Linked DNA regions of Homo sapiens: region 2 is linked to region 1. The links are contacts of gene promoters, found by promoter capture Hi-C in human tissues and cell types (Jung and others, 2019). All regions are on one chromosome and are shown on one strand. The core of a region is centred on a gene start or on the middle of the fragment in contact, and the rest is flanking DNA. Distances in the headings are between cores, read along the strand shown.

What was found. Contacts are between HindIII fragments. The study calls those that stand out against the background at their distance.
Region 2: a fragment that was not itself captured here is called in contact with the fragment with the promoter of AGFG1 in region 1 in 1 of the 25 tissues and cell types used here (ovary).

What each region holds. Positions count from the first base shown.
Region 1 is chr2:227,469,348-227,473,902 of GRCh38, reverse strand. AGFG1 (ArfGAP with FG repeats 1) reads right to left here and starts at 1,747. Exons shown (of 13, transcript NM_004504.5): 1 at 1,315-1,747. The coding sequence starts at 1,481. MIR5703 (microRNA 5703) reads right to left here and starts at 1,771; the gene lies at 1,716-1,771. LOC124907994 (a long non-coding RNA gene) reads left to right here and starts at 1,804. Exons shown (of 2, transcript XR_007088114.1): 1 at 1,804-2,743; 2 at 2,914-3,115. RefSeq lists a silencer at 1,039-1,758 and an enhancer at 1,871-2,834. The HindIII fragment of the contact is 8,030 bases long and covers 1-4,555 here.
Region 2 is chr2:227,887,410-227,891,814 of GRCh38, reverse strand. DAW1 (dynein assembly factor with WD repeats 1) reads right to left here. Exons shown (of 13, transcript NM_178821.3): 3 at 1,815-1,959; 4 at 502-560. Among named protein-coding and RNA genes, the nearest start is that of DAW1, 18 kb to the right of the region's middle. The HindIII fragment of the contact is 3,680 bases long and covers 1-3,213 here.

The DNA.
Region 1 (4,555 bases), core at 498-2,997:
ACCCCAGGGCCTTACACAACCTAATAGGCACCAAAAAAAATGTCTGCTGAAGAAATAACACTCATGTAATACTAATAATGCCTCTTTGCCCAACTTTAAAAAGCAAATAGTACATACTAGACATGTTCTGCATTTTCTAAGTTTTAAGAAATCAATTTTCCCACATAAAGTATTATGTGCTTTGTATTAATCTTACAAGCAAAGGTTTTAAAAATACTTAGTAACTGCCACGTTGTTAGTAACTTTAAATACAAGATAATAATATAAAAGCATTTTATCAATTCCAAAACCACCTGCAAATTTTCCGAATGAAATTGCACGGCAATAAAAATCTTTATCAAAATAAAGCTTAATGAAGCAAAGAACAACAAACACAAATCATCCCAGTAACTCAGGACGGTAGTGTCTTTCTGAAATCATGGTGACTTGCTAGCTCTCCTCATTTCTGTGTACAGCCAGGGCACTCGGGTATTGATAGCGAGATACAGATAAATCTCACAGATAACTCCATCATATTTAGAATCACACAGCTCCTAGTGGGTACCTTATTGCCATTAAAACTTTCCCCCAACTCCTCAACACTCTCTTCGGACCATAAAACTAAAATCCCACAGCTTCAAATCTGCTCCTCTGCCTCCCCCTCCCGCAATTAATCCTTTCGAACTTTTCCCAGGGGATTCACATCTGCCATCAAGATGCTTTCATCCTGCTACTATTCCTAAGTGCCTGCTTCCTCCCAGTTACGTAGGTACTCTCGACCCAGAAAAAAGGCACGGGCGAGGCAGGCGTCCCTCCCTCCCACCCCAGCTTCTCCCCGACCCCCAGCAGGAGCGCCCAGCAGGTGCCTCGCTCCGCACCGCGGCTCCCGGGCCGCTGAGAGGCGGGGCACACAAAGGACCCGCATGGACCTCCCCCCCGGCCTCCTAGCGTCTTCCCCCACCCCCCACAGCCCGGCGCCCCGGGTAGCTGGAGAGCGAGGGCGGCGGCCGCAGGCTCGACGGAGACCAGGGACGCTCGCCCCGGTCGCCCCCTCCCTGACCCCAACCCCGCCCACGTCCCACCCACGAAGGCTGCCCAGAACGTAAACCCTCGCCCGGCAAAACCGAAAACGCATCCCCAGCCCGGCTGCCCGGGCCCTGCGCATCCAGCCCGCAGCCTCCCACGCCGCGCCCGCCAGCCGGCGCCCAACGGCCGCCCCCGACCGCCTCCCACGGCACCCGGCTCTTTCCCAGCCCCGGAAGGGTCCCGGTCCCGCCGCCCGCTCCCCCACCTCCCGGGAAGGGCCCGACACCCGCCCGGCCGCCCCGCACTCACAGGCTGCCGGAGCAGGAGGTACACACGAAGGAGCCGACCGTCATGTTAACGTAGGTGGGGCCGCGCTGGTCGCAGTCGAAGCACTTTCGGTTGTGCGGGAGGCCGGTCATGTCCCGCAGCATCTTCAGGTGCTTCTCCTCCTGCTTCCGCTTCGCGCTGGCCGCCATGGCCGCGGCGCCAAGGGAGGAGGCCGGCAGGGCCGGGAGCCGGGCAGCGCTGCGCCGGGGGCCCGCGGTCCCACGGGCCGCCCTGGCCGCGGCCGCCGCCCTCCGTCTGCGCGCGCCGCCCGCGCCGGACCCGGCCGCAGCGGCTTGGCTGTACTGGGCTCGACGCGGCCCGGGCGCTGTGGTACGCGGGCTGACGGGCCACACCAACCGGCACAGCCGGGACAACCGCCGCCGCCGCCGCCACCTTCCCGACTTCTCCTGAGGGGAAAAGACGAGGAAGGGGACGGCAAGAGGAGGCCCGCCCTGGGCGGCCGGTAGCCAAGTGTCCGCTGGCGCCCTCTGCTGGCCAGGAGGAGTCACTGCGGCCTCGCTGAGGCATGGGCCGGGTCTGGAGCCAAGTAGGGTAGACACAATGGTGATAATAATATTAATAATAGACAGTATTTATTGAGCGCTTATATATGCAAAGCGTTTCACATGGGTTACCTTCCCCTTCTGTTTAAAACTCTTCAAGGGCTTTCCACTGCTTTGAGTATAATTCCAAATTCCTCACCGTGCCGTAAAAAGTGCTCCATAGTCTAGCCCAGTCTACCTCATTCTTCGTCGTCCTCACTCAGCCACACTGGATTTTGAGTTTTCTGAACACAGCAAGCTCCTTTCTGACTCCTGCAGGACCTTTGCCCTTGCTCTTCTCTCTTTATCTTTGGGCCAGCTAATTTGGGGGGGCTTGGGGTGTCCTGTGCACTGTAGGATACTGGGCGGCGTTCCTAGCCTATACCCACTAGATACAAGAACAAACCCCCCAATTCCCATTGCTGGCAACCAAAAATCCCCAGACATTGCCAAAAGTGGAGGGAACTTTAGGGCGGTGCAGTCACCTGGCTTGAGAACTGCTGCGTGTGGAAACCCGGATCATCCATAGCTGACATCCTCTAAGTCAGGTGGGGCTCAGATGTCACCTCCCCCGCCAGACTGTCCCAGATCAGCCGAGTTAATGTTGCAGCTCACCTTTCTCGAAGTTGCTCTCCATCAAATTGCTGCGTTGTATTTTCGTCTCAGTTCTAGCTATTTGAAATACTGCATCTTATTTCGTGTTTACCATGGGTGATCTGGACTCTCCCTTTAGGCGCTAAACAGCCTGGCCCCCGTATTTTCTGTGCCACTCCACCCCATTCCCCTCGCAGAGCTGGAGACTAGGTGTTCAATGTTGACGGAATGAATACATGAAATCGTTCATGTAATCTTCACAACAACCCTTCGAGGTGAGCGTTATTGTTATTTACATTTTACAAAACAGGAAGATGAAACCCTGAGGGATTAAGTAAATTTACCCAAGGGTACCTATGGCGAAGCTCAATTCCAACCCAGACAGCCAGACTGCAGGACCCAAATCCCCACTGCAACAATCAACTTCGTCTCTCGTTTTCCAAAGGAGTACAGGGAGACCCAGAGAGCTGAAGTTCTCAAATCACTGGGCTGTTGAATGGATTAGAATCTACGTTTCCTAACAGCCAAGACCAACCTCCACATCTCTCATGAAAGGGATTGGGTGAATCAACAAAGTGAGACTTCATATTAATATAATACTACTAATAATAATTAATGTTTTTAATATTAAAAGAAATGGACAGATAGATTGGCCAATGAATGTTTTTAAACTTTTCTATTATGGAAAATATCAAACTACCATGAGCCCATGGACCACTTTCAGCAATGATTAAGCCCATGGCTAATCTTGCTTTATAAATACCTCAACCCTCCATCCCCTCTCCTATTATTTTAAAGCAAATTCTAGGTTTCGTACCATTCATCTAAATGGTACATAGTTCCATTTGTATCCCTAAAAAATAAAAACTTTATCTCTTTCAAACTTAGCCATGATACCGTTAGCATATCTAAAAAGTTAACAATAGGCTGGGCACGATGGCGCACACCTGTAATCCCAGCACTGTGGGAGGCCAAGGCAGGTGGATTACCTGAGGTCAGGAGTTCAGGACCAGCCTGGCCTACATGGCGAAACCGGGTCTCTACTAAAAATATGAAAATTAGCCAGGCATGGTGGCATGCACTTGTAGTCCCAGCTACTTGGGAAGCTGAGGCAGGAGAATCACTTGAACCTGGGAGGCAGAGGTGGCAGTGAGCCAAGATTGTGCCACTGCACTCCAACCTGGGCAATAGAGCAAGACTCCGCCTCAAAAAAAAAAAAGTTAATAACTCCTAAAGATCATCAAATATCGCACTAGTGTTTAAGTTGGCAATTATCAATATTTTAATGAGATTTTTACAGTTTGTTTGAACCCACTCCTTGCAACTGGGTAATATGTCTCATAAGGTTTCTTTGGGTCTCTCCACCATCTCTTTTTTTTTAATTATAATTCATTTGTTTTAGTAATTGGGCACTTTATTCTGTAGAGTTTCTCATAATCTGTATCATTTAACATGTCCCTCTGTTCTATTTCCTAAAAATTGGTAGTTAGATCTAGTTCACTAGTATCCAGTTCAGTATTTTTGCGGGGCAGGCATTCATTTCATTGTGTTCTTCCATCAAGAGGGACATAATTGAGGAGAGGATATCTTTTTCATGATGTTGGTAACCATTGATGATTAATGTCTAGATTCATTAATTCATTAATGATTAGAAAATACTGATATTCTAATTCTGCCATTCTGGCTGGGTGCGGTGACTCACGCCTGTAATCCCAGCAACTTTGGGAGGCTGGGGCAGGAGGATCATCTAAGGTCAGGAGTTCGAGACCAGCCTGGCCAACATGGCGAAACCCCGTCTCTACTAAAAATACAAAAATTAGCTGAGCATGGTGGCAGGCACCTGTAATCCCAGCTACTCGGGAGGCTGGGGCAGGAGAATTGCTTGAACCCAGGAGGTGGAGGTTGCAGTGAGCTGAGATCCCACCACTGCACTCCAGCCTGGGTGACAGAATGAGACTCTGTCTCAAAAAAATAAAAAATAAAAATAAATAAATAAATAAAACTAATTCTACCATTCCTTCATTTATCAGCTCAAATTTTCTATAAAGAAAAAATTTCCCCTCATCTACCATTTTATTTGGTATAGT
Region 2 (4,405 bases), core at 124-2,623, 420 kb before region 1:
CCTTAGCAAACTGCTTATTTTATGTCTAGTTTGTGTTTATTTTATGTCTGTAGGTCAAGACGAGACTTCTCCCTCATCTCTCCTACCTAGCACGTCAGCTCCCAAGCTGATCACAGCCATGCTCTCAACAGAGACTTGAAGCTGCTGTTTGCCATACCCCAAATCACTGACCTAGATGGAAAGTGCCTGCTCTGAATAGACTGATCACAACCAACCAAGTTAGATATGAGGCCACCCTGCCCGACTCATTCCTGAGTTGAGTTCTTCAGTAGCTACATTTGCTGAGAACCCAATATGCCTCCCATTCACTGCAGCACAAATACGACAGAAAACTCAGATTAGAAGAGTGGGAGAAAGGGTTTATATTTCTCCTCAGTATCCAAGGGAGTACTGAAATCAGAAAAATGAATATATTATGTACTTATCTAACTGGAATCTTTGATAAATAAACACAGAAATTTGTTTCACTGCTAAAAATTAGACATAAAAAGAGAATCTTACCATGAGCCCGATTTGTTAAGTGCAACATTAGTCAGTGGCAATATATGTGCTTTGAGAACCTTCAGTGAAAGAAAACACCATTTTTTAGACTCAAACCAAATTAAATTTGTTAGTTATAACTTCAAACCAATGAAGACATTCAATTTTTTCTTAATTATACATCAGAAACAGGCAATATCTGATTTACCTTTAGACAGTGCTATGTGGCATCTTATTGATAGCACTAATTTGTAACATTTTCTTTTACATATGGCATGTGGTTTTGTATACATGTATAAACTGGGTATGTAGGAAATACACTAAATATGTTTCAATAAAGATTTGACAATGTATTATGACTTTATGAATCCTGAAGCTCCTTTAGTGTCAGAATATGTCTTCCTTATCTTTCAATCCCTACAACATCTAACATACAGTGAATGTTTAATGAATATTTATTGAATGCATATACATAAATTGGACAATCTATTAAGAGTGATTGGCTGGGCTGGGACAGTCCAAGTTATGTCTGTTACCAAAATGTAACTATGAATAGCATCTACTTTCACCATCAAAAATGTTCCCTTTGGAGAATAAATTGAGACACGCTAGTTATACAGCTCATATTTGAAATTAAACAGTGCCACCTACTGGACAAAGAAATGTTACAAGACTATAACATCCTCTTCCAGAAACGAATGCCTGGATATTTTGTATCAGGTGAGTCTATAACTAATAATTATATGTTACTATCATAATTATATTTAAATCATAAAAGATAAAAGCAGTGTAATATGAAGTAATTCTAAGGTAATGACAAAGGAAAATTAAAAGCTTTCCTTGAAGTACTAAACGACTATATTTGCTATATTTAATCATCAAAAAAACTATTTAAAAAGCATATTTACATCACATTAAAATTATATGTCATACAAATAAATAATTTACTGAAATATGGTTTAGTTCACATGAAAGCAGAAAATACGAAATGTTGATTTGTCATAAAACACAACTTCTTAACGTTACTTTAACTAGAAAAAAAGCTTTAGTTATTCCATAACTTAAAACTATCTTAATAATAATAACCCTTTAAATTTATCATTATATGAAGAGCTGAAATCTTTATTTAACCTCTCAAGGAATAAGTGTTTTGGATTTCACTCATTCATTTAACAAATAATTATTGGGACAATCTTAGCAAACATATGTGAGGCACTACAATCAATCACTGACATGCCTTTTTCATGAAAAAATATTTTTAGGGAAAGAAAAATTAATAAAATATCAATCATTTCACTGAAATTCTTCTATCTGATTGTTTTTAAATCCATTACCTTAAAAAGATAGAACGTGTGATTGCTGTTCTGGCCGAGTTTCTCTTGCAACCTCTGTATCAAAAGTTTGACTTGCTCTGTTCGTGAAGCTGTGAGTAGAGGTTCTGCCTTCTGGATTTCTTCTACTAACGCACTGACATCAGTGCTGAAATACACCCAAAAAAGAGTTTCTTTTATTTTATGTCAAAATTTGCATATACCTATATTACATGAAGAATTGATTGTATTGCTTCATGAAGCACATTTATAAAATGTCAAAAACACCATTATCTTTCCCAAGAGATATCTGGGGGTGGGGCGGGGAGGATCATACAAATCAGTAAATAGATGATGGCAGGAAAGCAAGAAGCTTGGATTTTCTACAACATATTTTTCCAAAGCTAAGGCTTGTTTCATGGAGGGTGTGCCAAGAGTCTAATGTTCTCACCTAGTGTTGTGGTTTGAATGTTTGCGTCCGCTCTAAAATTCATGCTGAAACATGTTCACCAATGTCACAGCATTAAGAGGTGCGGCCTGAATAGGTAATTAAGTCACAATGGTGGAGCCCTTCTGAATGGGATTAGAAGCCCTGATAACAAGGCTTGACAAAGAGAGTTCATCCCTTTTGCCCTTCTGCCCTCTGCCATGTGAAGACGCAGCATCAAGGTGCCATCCTGGAAGCAGAGTGCAGCCCTCATCAGATGCCAAACTTGTAGGGGCCTTGATCTTGGATTTCTCAGTCAGAACTACGAGAAACAAATAACCCTGTTTCAGGTCTTTCTTTTTATGGCAGCACAAAATGAATGAAGACACCTAGGAAGGCCTAGTCCATACTAGTTCTGAACATGAGCTCTTTTTCTTTCTTTCCTGTTTCTTTTGAATGAACATGTATTGAATGTTCCCAGCAGCATACTTTTCACTTTACATATGTTCTCTTATTTAATCCTGTAACAATCTGCTAATGTAATGCTTTTATCATAATTATTTTAGAGATGAAGAAACTGAGGTTCAGAAAGATTAGATTTAAAATATTTTTAGGAAAAGAGAAAAATGCCTAACCATAAATTTAAAGCATCATAAGACTAATATTAATATTTATTATAGACTAAAATATTGTTTCCCTGAAAGATAACTGGTCTGAAAAATATACAGATAGATTCAAATTTTCTCTAGCATTCAAATAATTCATAGAAATTCTGAAAAATGTTGCTGGCACAGAATAATATTCGTTCAAAAAAAGGTATCAATGTATATACACCATGAAGCATCCAAAAAAGAGCCATTTCACAAATCATGTCACACACGTGTCCAGAAGATGCACTATGCAGATTCCCCCACCTTTAAGAAAGAATCAAGCCCAGAGTCAGGGTTGGAGCTTTGTTGCCTGACAGCTTCTAGCTGCAGCTCTTTCAGGCTGTACCTTGGCATTCCAGGCCAGGGCTGCCTCTTCTCTGGTGGCTCTCCGTCCACAGCTGAGCAGGGGCAGAGCAAGAGCCTGGCCGTTTCTCCCTGTGAGGCACTCCTCTAGCTGGCAAGTTTTGCTCCTGAGCTCTTCCAGATTGGCAGAGATTCTGTTGTCCCGCCTTCTTCATCGAGGTCAGATGGCTCCTCCCGCCTGATCCTGCTTCTGCTTCATGCCCTGGACTGTCACAAGTGTCACTGCCCAATAAACCTTTGACTCACCCACTTCTGTCTCAGTATCCAATTCCCATGAATGTGGCCCCTGATAAGTATCCCCCTCTTCACCTCATCAACAAACATTAAGCTCCAGTTTTGTGCAAGGCACCGAGCTAGGAACCTGCTCATTCAATTGACATTTATTGAGTTGGTACTATTGCTTTAGCACTGGGTGTGTAAAAGATATGGTCCCAGCTCTCAAGAAACATAATCTATTAGATTAGGAGTGAATATTTTGAACAAAAATGAACCAGGAACCATCCATAATAATAACTTGGATAAACCCTGAGATATTTCATTGTCAAAAAGATAATTAATTTCATAACAATTAAAAGGGTAAAAATGCCCCTTTGAAACGTTTTCAACAACTTATATAAAAACAGATTTCCTCGCAAGATCCAAATTAACCAGATAATCTACACGCTCCAACCCTGTAGGATTTTCATGCAATAATTCCAGCATGTCATCTATGGTGCCAGTGTTTTTACAGGCACAATACTTCCAGATTCTTGCACAAAACTAGAAATAAAATTCACACTTTTTTGAGACATTTATTTACTTTCTCATATCACCAAAAGGTCATGTTTATGAGTGGCTATGCCTTATATCTCCTCAGGAAAGCACAGCACGATTGAGTGACTATAGTTAATATGAAGACTTTCAAAGTGTTGAGTGCCTGGATTCACAGCCCACAAGTCCTTTTTGAAATCACCTAATAATTCATACTTCTTAGATATAAAAATCTGTGGTTTTGCAGAATGTCTAGCTGGAGGTTATTCTCTCATATAGAAGCTTATCTGTACCACTTGTGTGATGTTCTATGTTGTACAAGTTGTTTCTCAAACTAGACAAAAAGCCTATCAAGTGTAGGGATTATGAGTAATATCTTTATAGCCTCTTATAGAATCTAACCCAGATTAGATTCTTACATATGT